2 separate regions of the Homo sapiens genome follow, and region 2 is linked to region 1. Evidence: promoter capture Hi-C in human tissues and cell types (Jung and others, 2019). All regions are on one chromosome and are shown on one strand. Each heading gives the region's core, a stretch centred on a gene start or on the middle of the fragment in contact. The rest is flanking DNA. Distances are from core to core; before and after follow the strand shown. Region 1 holds the start of DGAT1 (diacylglycerol O-acyltransferase 1). Region 2 overlaps ZNF7 (zinc finger protein 7).

Evidence for each region. Contacts are between HindIII fragments. The study calls those that stand out against the background at their distance.
Region 2: a contact is called between a fragment that was not itself captured here and the fragment with the promoter of DGAT1 in region 1, in 2 of the 25 tissues and cell types used here (dorsolateral prefrontal cortex and spleen).

What each region holds. Positions count from the first base shown.
Region 1 is chr8:144,324,378-144,328,118 of GRCh38, forward strand. DGAT1 (diacylglycerol O-acyltransferase 1) reads right to left here and starts at 2,475. Exons shown (of 17, transcript NM_012079.6): 1 at 2,060-2,475. The coding sequence starts at 2,259. RefSeq lists silencers at 2,102-2,171, 2,182-2,901. The HindIII fragment of the contact is 53,552 bases long and covers 1-3,741 here.
Region 2 is chr8:144,836,847-144,840,743 of GRCh38, forward strand. It overlaps ZNF7 (zinc finger protein 7), which reads left to right. Exons shown (of 5, transcript NM_003416.4): 4 at 545-661. It also overlaps a transcript of COMMD5 not described here. Among named protein-coding and RNA genes, the nearest start is that of ZNF7, 11 kb to the left of the region's middle. RefSeq lists an enhancer at 2,007-2,560. The HindIII fragment of the contact is 3,694 bases long and covers 677-3,897 here.

The DNA.
Region 1 (3,741 bases), core at 1,225-3,724:
AGGCAGAGCAAGGCCTGACGCAGACAGCAGGGAGAAGAGCCCAGTGTCCACAGCCAGTGGCCGAGCCCTGCTGCATCCCTAGGTCTGAGGGACAAGCACACATAGCCTGCAAGTCCTGGAGACCCAGGAGCAGATAGACTTTTGGTCTCAGCCTCCAGCCCCATGAAGGCCTCACCTCTCCATCTACTGCCCCTCTTCCCAAGGAGACCCGACCTCCACGGCAGGGACAGGGACTCACCAGGCCTCTCCCACGAGCTCTGCACCCATCCCACACCAGCAGAAGTACAGGAAAGCCTTGCTGGTTTGCAAAGCAAGAAGGTGACTGCTCTCCCCTGCCTACCCCCAGGTGGCGGCTTGGCCCAAAGCTGGGACTACCCTCATCTCACACTAAAAAAAATCTCAATTCCCGGCCGGGCGCGGTGGCTCACACCTGTAATCCCAGCACTTTGGGAGGCCAAGGCAGGTGGATCACCTGAGTTCAGGAGTTCGAGACCAGCCTGACCAACATGGAGAAACCCCATCTCTACTAAAAATACAAAATTAGCCGGGTGTGGTGGGCGCCTCTAATCCCAGCTACTCTGGAGGCTGAGGCAGGAGAATCACTTGAACCTGGGAGGCAGAGGTTGCAGTGAGCCAAGAATGTGCCATTTTACTCCAGCCTGGGCAACAAGAGCAAAACTAGTCTCAAAAAAAAAGAAAAGAAAAAAAAAGAAATCTCAATTCCCACGTCCTCCACAGGTCATGTAGCCATCCCCCTGCCTCCTGGAGAGAGGGTAACTCCAGGAGCCACACCTCCTTTTCAGGTAGGAGGTGCCTAGGCCAGCCTCCCTCACCAGCACCCCAGGCCCACAGCAGGCAAGCACCCCTCTCAGGAGGGCCACCCTCCTCCCCACGGCCCCTTCAAGGCCTCCGTGCCCGACCTTTGTCCATGTTGCTCCATGCCTGACTCTCGCTGAGGTTATCTTATCTCCCAGATGAACTGAGCACCCTGAGGGCCACGACAGTGCCTGCCCTCCCCCAACCCCCTCCCCATGGTGCCCCGTGAAGGAAAGCTCTGTTCTTGCTCACTGAGAGAGCAAATCATTGCCAACTACATGTCCAAAATCAGCCCACTTCTGCCTTGATAACCTCTAGGCCCTCAGCTGCTCTCTAAAACAAAGCCCTGAGGGCCCCTGGGCCAGGGTAAAGGCCATAAAGGGGGGATGGAGGGTGGCAAGGGGATTGCTCAAGGCCAGCTTGGTGGAGGAAGCCAATGCCCAGGCTGGCCAAGTCCTTCCCATCGGCCATGGTTCTCTCCCTCCACCCCTCTCTGTCAGTCATCCAGCTGAGCAGGGCACACGCCTGCAGGTGTGTCCACCACCCCCATACCCCACTCCCCACCTGGAGGATGGAAGTCCCAACACAGAACCCAACTCTCTGTCCCTACAACAGACGCTGGCTCTGGCAACATCGGCAGGGCTCCAGGCCAGCCTAACCACTGGAGCAATGAATGGGCCACGCAGCCACTCTCAGAAGGGTCTGCAAGGACAAGAACGCCTCTAACACTGCCCCTTGTCCGGGGCAGCTGCTGATTCCCCTGTCCTCGGACAGGCCTGGGCTCCTCTGGCCCCCTCCCTGGCAGGCCAGCCCTCCTCTGGGAGCCTTTCCTACCCGCAAGGCACCGCTCATAGCACCAAGAAGGAACCTATCACCACAAACTGCCCAGATCTTATCTGACTCCTTCCATATAAGGGGACACTGTCCAGGGCCGGGCCCCCACCAGCCCGCCCCTCGAAAAGCTCCTCAGGAGCCCCTGAGGATGCACAGACCCAAGAGGATCTGGATGCGGGACACCTGCCGGCTCCCCTCTGCCTGGCCAAGGCCAGCTCCAGAGCCCCTACCCAGTGACCTTGTCAGGTGACTCTCCCCAAGCCTCAGTTTCCCCACAGGGCCCATAGGGCACACCGATCCCCGCTTAGCCCAGGGCCCATGTTCTCGGACTCGGAGCTCGCGCTTCGGCCAACCCCGGAAAGTCGCGGGGCCCTTGGGTCAGAGGTTAGGGGGTCAGGCGCTCCGCTACCTCAGCTCCCAGTGGCCGCTGCCCACGCCGGCGTCTCCGTCCTTGTTGGGGGCCGGGGCTGGCGCGTCCCCCGCGGCTCCCACGTCGGGGCCCGCAGCGGCGTCCCGCACCTCCTCTTCCGCCGCCGCAGGCCCGCCGCCGCCGTGGCTCGAGGGCCGCGACCCTGTCCTCCGGCGCCGGGAGCTGCCGCGGTCGCCCATGGCCTCAGCCCGCACCCGGCCGCAGCCAAGCGTGGGCCCGCCGGGTTCGTAGCGCCCGAGGCGCGCGGCCCCACCTCCGGGCCCTAGACAACGGCCGCCACTGCCCCCTGCCGGCCGCCGTAGCCCGGGTGACCGCCTCACCAGCGCGTTCAACCCGCCCGCGTCGGGCCCGTCGGCCTCAAGGACAACGGCTGCGTTGCTCCGGAGCCGCTAACTAATGGACGGCCGCCTCTCTCGTCCATTTGTAGTCCGCGGCCGACCTGAGGCGGGGCCTGGAGAGGCTGACGGGGCGCAGGGCACCCTGGGAGTCGTAGTCGCCGCGGGCGCGCCGGCGCAGAGCACCCTGGGAGTCGTAGTCGCCGCGGCCGCACCGGCGCAGAGCACCCTGGGAGCCGTGGCAGCTCCCAGGGCCGGGGCTGCGGGCCGCAAGTGCGCGCAGCGGGAACGGACCTTGCATCGCTCCCGCGTGGTCCCGGGGTCCTGTCCGGCCCCACGGAGCGGGATGGTCCGCTGAGGGGTGCGCTGGGCCCCGACTTCCTGGCCGCTGTGCGCCCGCCCCTCGTCCCACTTGTGTACACACGGGGTCTCGGCGAGTCACTCCGGGCAATCATTTAGGAAGCGCCTAGTGCGCCACGGTCCAGCTGTCCGGGCCGGTGTCCGCGGCGGCTCGCGTCGCCCGCCACCCAGCGCGTTGGTTTCTGCGCACGCAGCTTACAGTAACGTCCCTGGCGCGCTTCTGCTCCGCGAGCCCTCTGGTTACCCCGGCAGGAACCTGCTTTTCTTCGCCTTAGGGGGACGTCAGACAAGGGCCAGGTCAGAAGACCAAGCTGGAGAAATGCACCAGGCCCTGCGTCACCGGGACGCCTGCCTTGCACGCGACTCCCAGGCTCTCCACCTCCCCGCCTGCAGAGCCCGGCGAGAGGAGGGCGAGGGCGAGGGCGAGGGCGCAGGCCCCTTGGTGGTGTCTTCTCAGCCCACCCACTCTCTCCACAAGGAGCTCCACGTCCCTCAACTCTCAGGGCCTCCCAGTTTCCAACGTGGGCCAGCCTCTCCAGGATGTCAGAAGTCTGGGCCGCTGGATCGCCGGGACTCAAGAGGCTTCTGTGCATTTGCACGGCCTGTGCAACCGCCCTGTTGTTTTTTGTTTTCTTTTTTCTTTTTTTGAGACAGTCTCACTCTGTCGCCAGGCTGGAGTGCAGTAGCGCGATCTCGTCTCACTGCAACCTCCACCTCCTGGGTTCAAGCGATTCTCCTGCCTCAGCCTCCCGAGTAGCCAGGACTACAGGCGCGTGCCACCACGCCCAGCTAATTTTTCTGTTTTTAGTAGAGACGGGCTTTCACCATATTGGCCAGGCTGGTCTCGATCTCCTGACCTCGTGATCCGCCCACCTCGGCCTCCCAAAGTGCTGGGATTATAGGCGCAAGCCACCGCGCCTGGCCTGTTGTTATTTTTTCTAAAGATGGGGGTCTCGCTATTCTGCC
Region 2 (3,897 bases), core at 1,274-3,773, 510 kb after region 1:
CCAGTCTGCAGCGAGGGAGGCAGGCCCTGAGGCATCCTTTGTGCAGGGACTTGAGGCTGGAAGGACACTGGCTGAGGACTGGACCTTGGAGCTTTCTGATGCAAAATGTGCTTCGTTTGTGTCTATTCATCGTTGTTTGTTACCTTATTTTGTAACCACCCCTGCCTCTTGGAGCATCTCTGCTCTCTGAACTGAGGGACAGGCCCGGTTCTGCTAAGTGAAGCTTGGGCTTCTCCTTCTCTTTCCCGAGTTCCAGGGGTAGAGGCGGACTGTCCTTTGCAGACTGTTTGGTGACAGGGTCGCCTGGAGATTGTGGGAGTCAGGTATCCCTTGCTGTCCAGCCACAGGAGGTGGACAGATCTGGACAGAAAGGGCTGCTGTGTCCCCAGATTCTCCCCACCCTCCACCCACTCTCCCTGCAGGAGCTTGGCCTGTGCCTTGTAGCCCCCCTGCCCCTTTCCATTTGGAAACTGGGGAAGACTTAGCCCTGTGCTGCACACTTCCCGTCATGCTGACACTGTTGTCTTCTCTGCCGCACACACAGCAGGATTCCTGGTTTTCAAGCCTGAGCTGATCTCTCGGCTGGAGCAGGGAGAAGAGCCATGGGTCCTCGACCTGCAGGGAGCAGAGGGGACAGAGGCACCAAGGACCTCCAAGACAGGTGAGGCTTAGATCCCATCGCAGAGAAGCCCTGGGGTGAGGAGAAACTGCAGGAGGGGCCTCACAACTGTGGGTAGCTGTGGGTGAGTCGCGGGGGCTACACTGGGATGCCTGGGAATGCTACTGGGGAAGCAGCATCCAGCACCTAGAAGGGAGCATAGACCCGTTGTGGGGCTGCCTTGGGAGAGGCCAAACTGCAGAAGAGCCAAGACACAAAAACCCATGCATTTCCACAAAAACGGAGCTTGTTTTTGAATCATGTCACATTTTGTTCTATTTTTAATTTTACTCATACTTTCGTTAAGCAAAGATACAAACCTATGGATCCAAGTGAAGGGTTAGGTTTGGCATTCAGTAACCTCTCCTCGGGTAAGCATATTCCCTGAGGCAGCTCCCTTCAGACCCTCTCAGGCTCCAGGAGTGCATTACTTTCCTGTGGCTGCCATAACAATGAACCACAGACTAGGAAGCTTAAAACAACAGAAATTTATTGTCTCACAGCTGTGGAGGCCGGAAATCTGAAACCGGGGGGTCAGCAAGCAGGGCCGTGCCCCCCTGTGAAGGCTTTAGGGAAGGATCCTGTCCTGCCTCTCCGGGCAGCTGGTGGTTTTCTGGCAGTCCTTGGGTTCCTTGGCTTGTGGATGCGTCCCTCACTCTGATCTCCGACTCCTTCACACGGCTGCCTTCTCCCTGCGTGTCTGTGTTCATGTGGCCATCTCCTTAGAAGGACACCAGTCATGGTGGGTTAGGGGCCACCCCAGTGACCTCATGGTGACTAATTAATCTGCAACGACTGTGTTTCCAAACAAGGTCACATTCTGAGGTGCTTCAAGTTAGGACTTCAGCCTATCTTGGGGTCCTCAGCCCTAACCAGGGCACCCACTGCCTCCGGCATCAGCTCCTGCTGGGCAGGCGCCCGGCCTGGTGCTCTGCTCCCCTGCTTAGCCGGTGTGCTGCCCAGCATGACAAGGGAGATGGGTCTGCGTGCATCTCAGCTGCAGAAAGGAAGCCCCTCACCTCCCTTTCAGTTGCTGCTGGGTCATCACCGTCACTCCTGCAGCAGGGCAGGACCAGGTCCTACAGAGGCCACCGGCTTGTAGGGGCCTCGGGAAGCAAGTTGGACAGTCCAAAGTTGTGAAAAGTAGGGGCCGTGGAGCCGGGCATGGTGGCTCACGCCGGCCATTCTAGCGATTTGGGAGGCCGAGGTGGGCGGATCACGAGGTCAGGAGATCGAGACCATCCTGGCCAACACGGTGAAACCCTGTGTCTACTAAAAATACAAAAAATTAACCAGGCGTGGTGGCAGGCGCCTGTAGTCCCAGCTACTCGGGAGGCCGAGGCAGGAGAATGGTGTGAGCCCAGGAGGCAGAGCTTGCAGTGAGCCGAGATTGCGCTACTGCACTCCAGCCTGGGCGACAGAGCGAGATGACGTCTCAAAAAAAAAAAAAAAAAAAAAGCAGGGGCTGTGATCTTACTTCCATTCATATGCGCCTAGGGGCTGTGACCTTACTTCCATTCATATGCGCCTAGGGGCTGTGACCTTACTTCCATTCATATGCGCCTAGGGGCTGTGACCTTACTTCCATTCATATGCGCCTAGGGGCTGTGACCTTACTTCCATTCATATGCGCCTAGGGGCTGTGACCTTACTTCCATTCATATGCGCCTAGGGGCTGTGACCTTACTTCCATTCATATGCGCCTAGGGGCTGTGACCTTACTTCCATTCATATGCCCCTAGGCAGCTTCAAAGGACAAGGAGGGTTTCTGAGCCTCTTCACGCCCTGTGGGCCTTGCAGCCGCCCAGGAAGTCTGCATGTGATGTGTGGGAAGAGTGGTCAGGAACCCTGGCCTCACTGGCTCTGCTGGCTACTCCCATGTGATCCTTTCTGCTCAGTCTCCCTGAGAAGGAGGTTCAGCTATAAGGTGGCCCAGTTAAAACCCAGCCGCCCATTAAAATGTCTCCAACATGGACAGGAGCGTTTAAAGAGGGTGCCATGGCAGAAAAGCCAGCTACAGTTGGCAGAAATAGTTCAGTGGGTTTATATGTAGCAGGTGGTCCTCACTGTGATAAAGCAACAACAAAAAAATAGAATCCCACAGTAGGTGAGAGCTGCTGTTGATGGACCCAGCACTTGCTCGCAGACCTGAGAGTCCGGGGCAGGGATGTAGCCTCTTAGATAAAACATGCAGCAGCACAAAACCAGAATACATGAAGCAAGGCAGAAATGCCCAGATATGTTACTTGTCCCCAGCTGGTACAGTCAGCATCAGATACTGAAAGATATTGGCCCAGAGCAGTGGAGGAGCGGCCAGGTCCCAGCTGTGCACCCCCACGCTTTTGACCACCACCGTGCCCCCTGCTGGGTGGTTCCTGGCATCCCCCAACAAAGCCTTGCTGTCAGCTTGGCCCTGCTCTCTCTGCCGCTGCTCTTTATTTTTTTATTTTTTGAGATGGAGTCTTTGTTGCCCAGGCTGGAGTGCAGTGGCATGATCTTGGCTCACTGCAACCTCTGCCTGCCAGGTTCAAGTGATTCTTGTGCCTCAGCCTCCCAAGTAGCCGGGATTACAGGCGTGAGCCACTGCACCTGGCCACCCTGCTCTCTTATCTTCACAGCAGGGGAAGGCTTGGGAGGAGTGTCAAGCAAGCCCTGTTGAAAGAGCAGGCATGCTGAGGTGGTGTGGTTGTGCAGGGAAAGCAGCACATGAGGACCAGGCCTGGAGATGCCTCCTGTCCTCACAGGCCTTGAGCATCCCTGCTACACAATGAGGTTGAAAGGGCTTCCTGCTCTGATTCTCCAGGACTGATAGGAAGACCTTTGGAGATCCCTGGAAGCCGGAGACTCACCACCAATGGTTAGGAGTGGGCAGGAACCGAAGCTTGAAGCCCTGTAACTGGGCTGTGCATTCATGTGGGGTAGACTCGGGCTGGTTATAGCTGTGGCTGCGTGGTTGTGGTTGTGAACGTGATTGTGTCGTGGTGGGGACCGTGGTTGTCATGATCATAGCCGTGTGTTGTGGTTGCATCCTGTCATGGTTTGATCACAGACATCAAGGAGATGTCTGACCTCAGCAGAGGTGCCCTCTAGGGTTACAGAGTAGGACAGAAGCCTGTGCTTACTTGGAGAGTCCAGAAGGAACGCAGATGTCTGGAAGGCCTCCTGGGGGCCTCCAGAAACTTGCAGCCCCAGGGAAGAAGTCAGTGTGGTCTTAGAGGTGGCCACGCACAGCCCAGGGA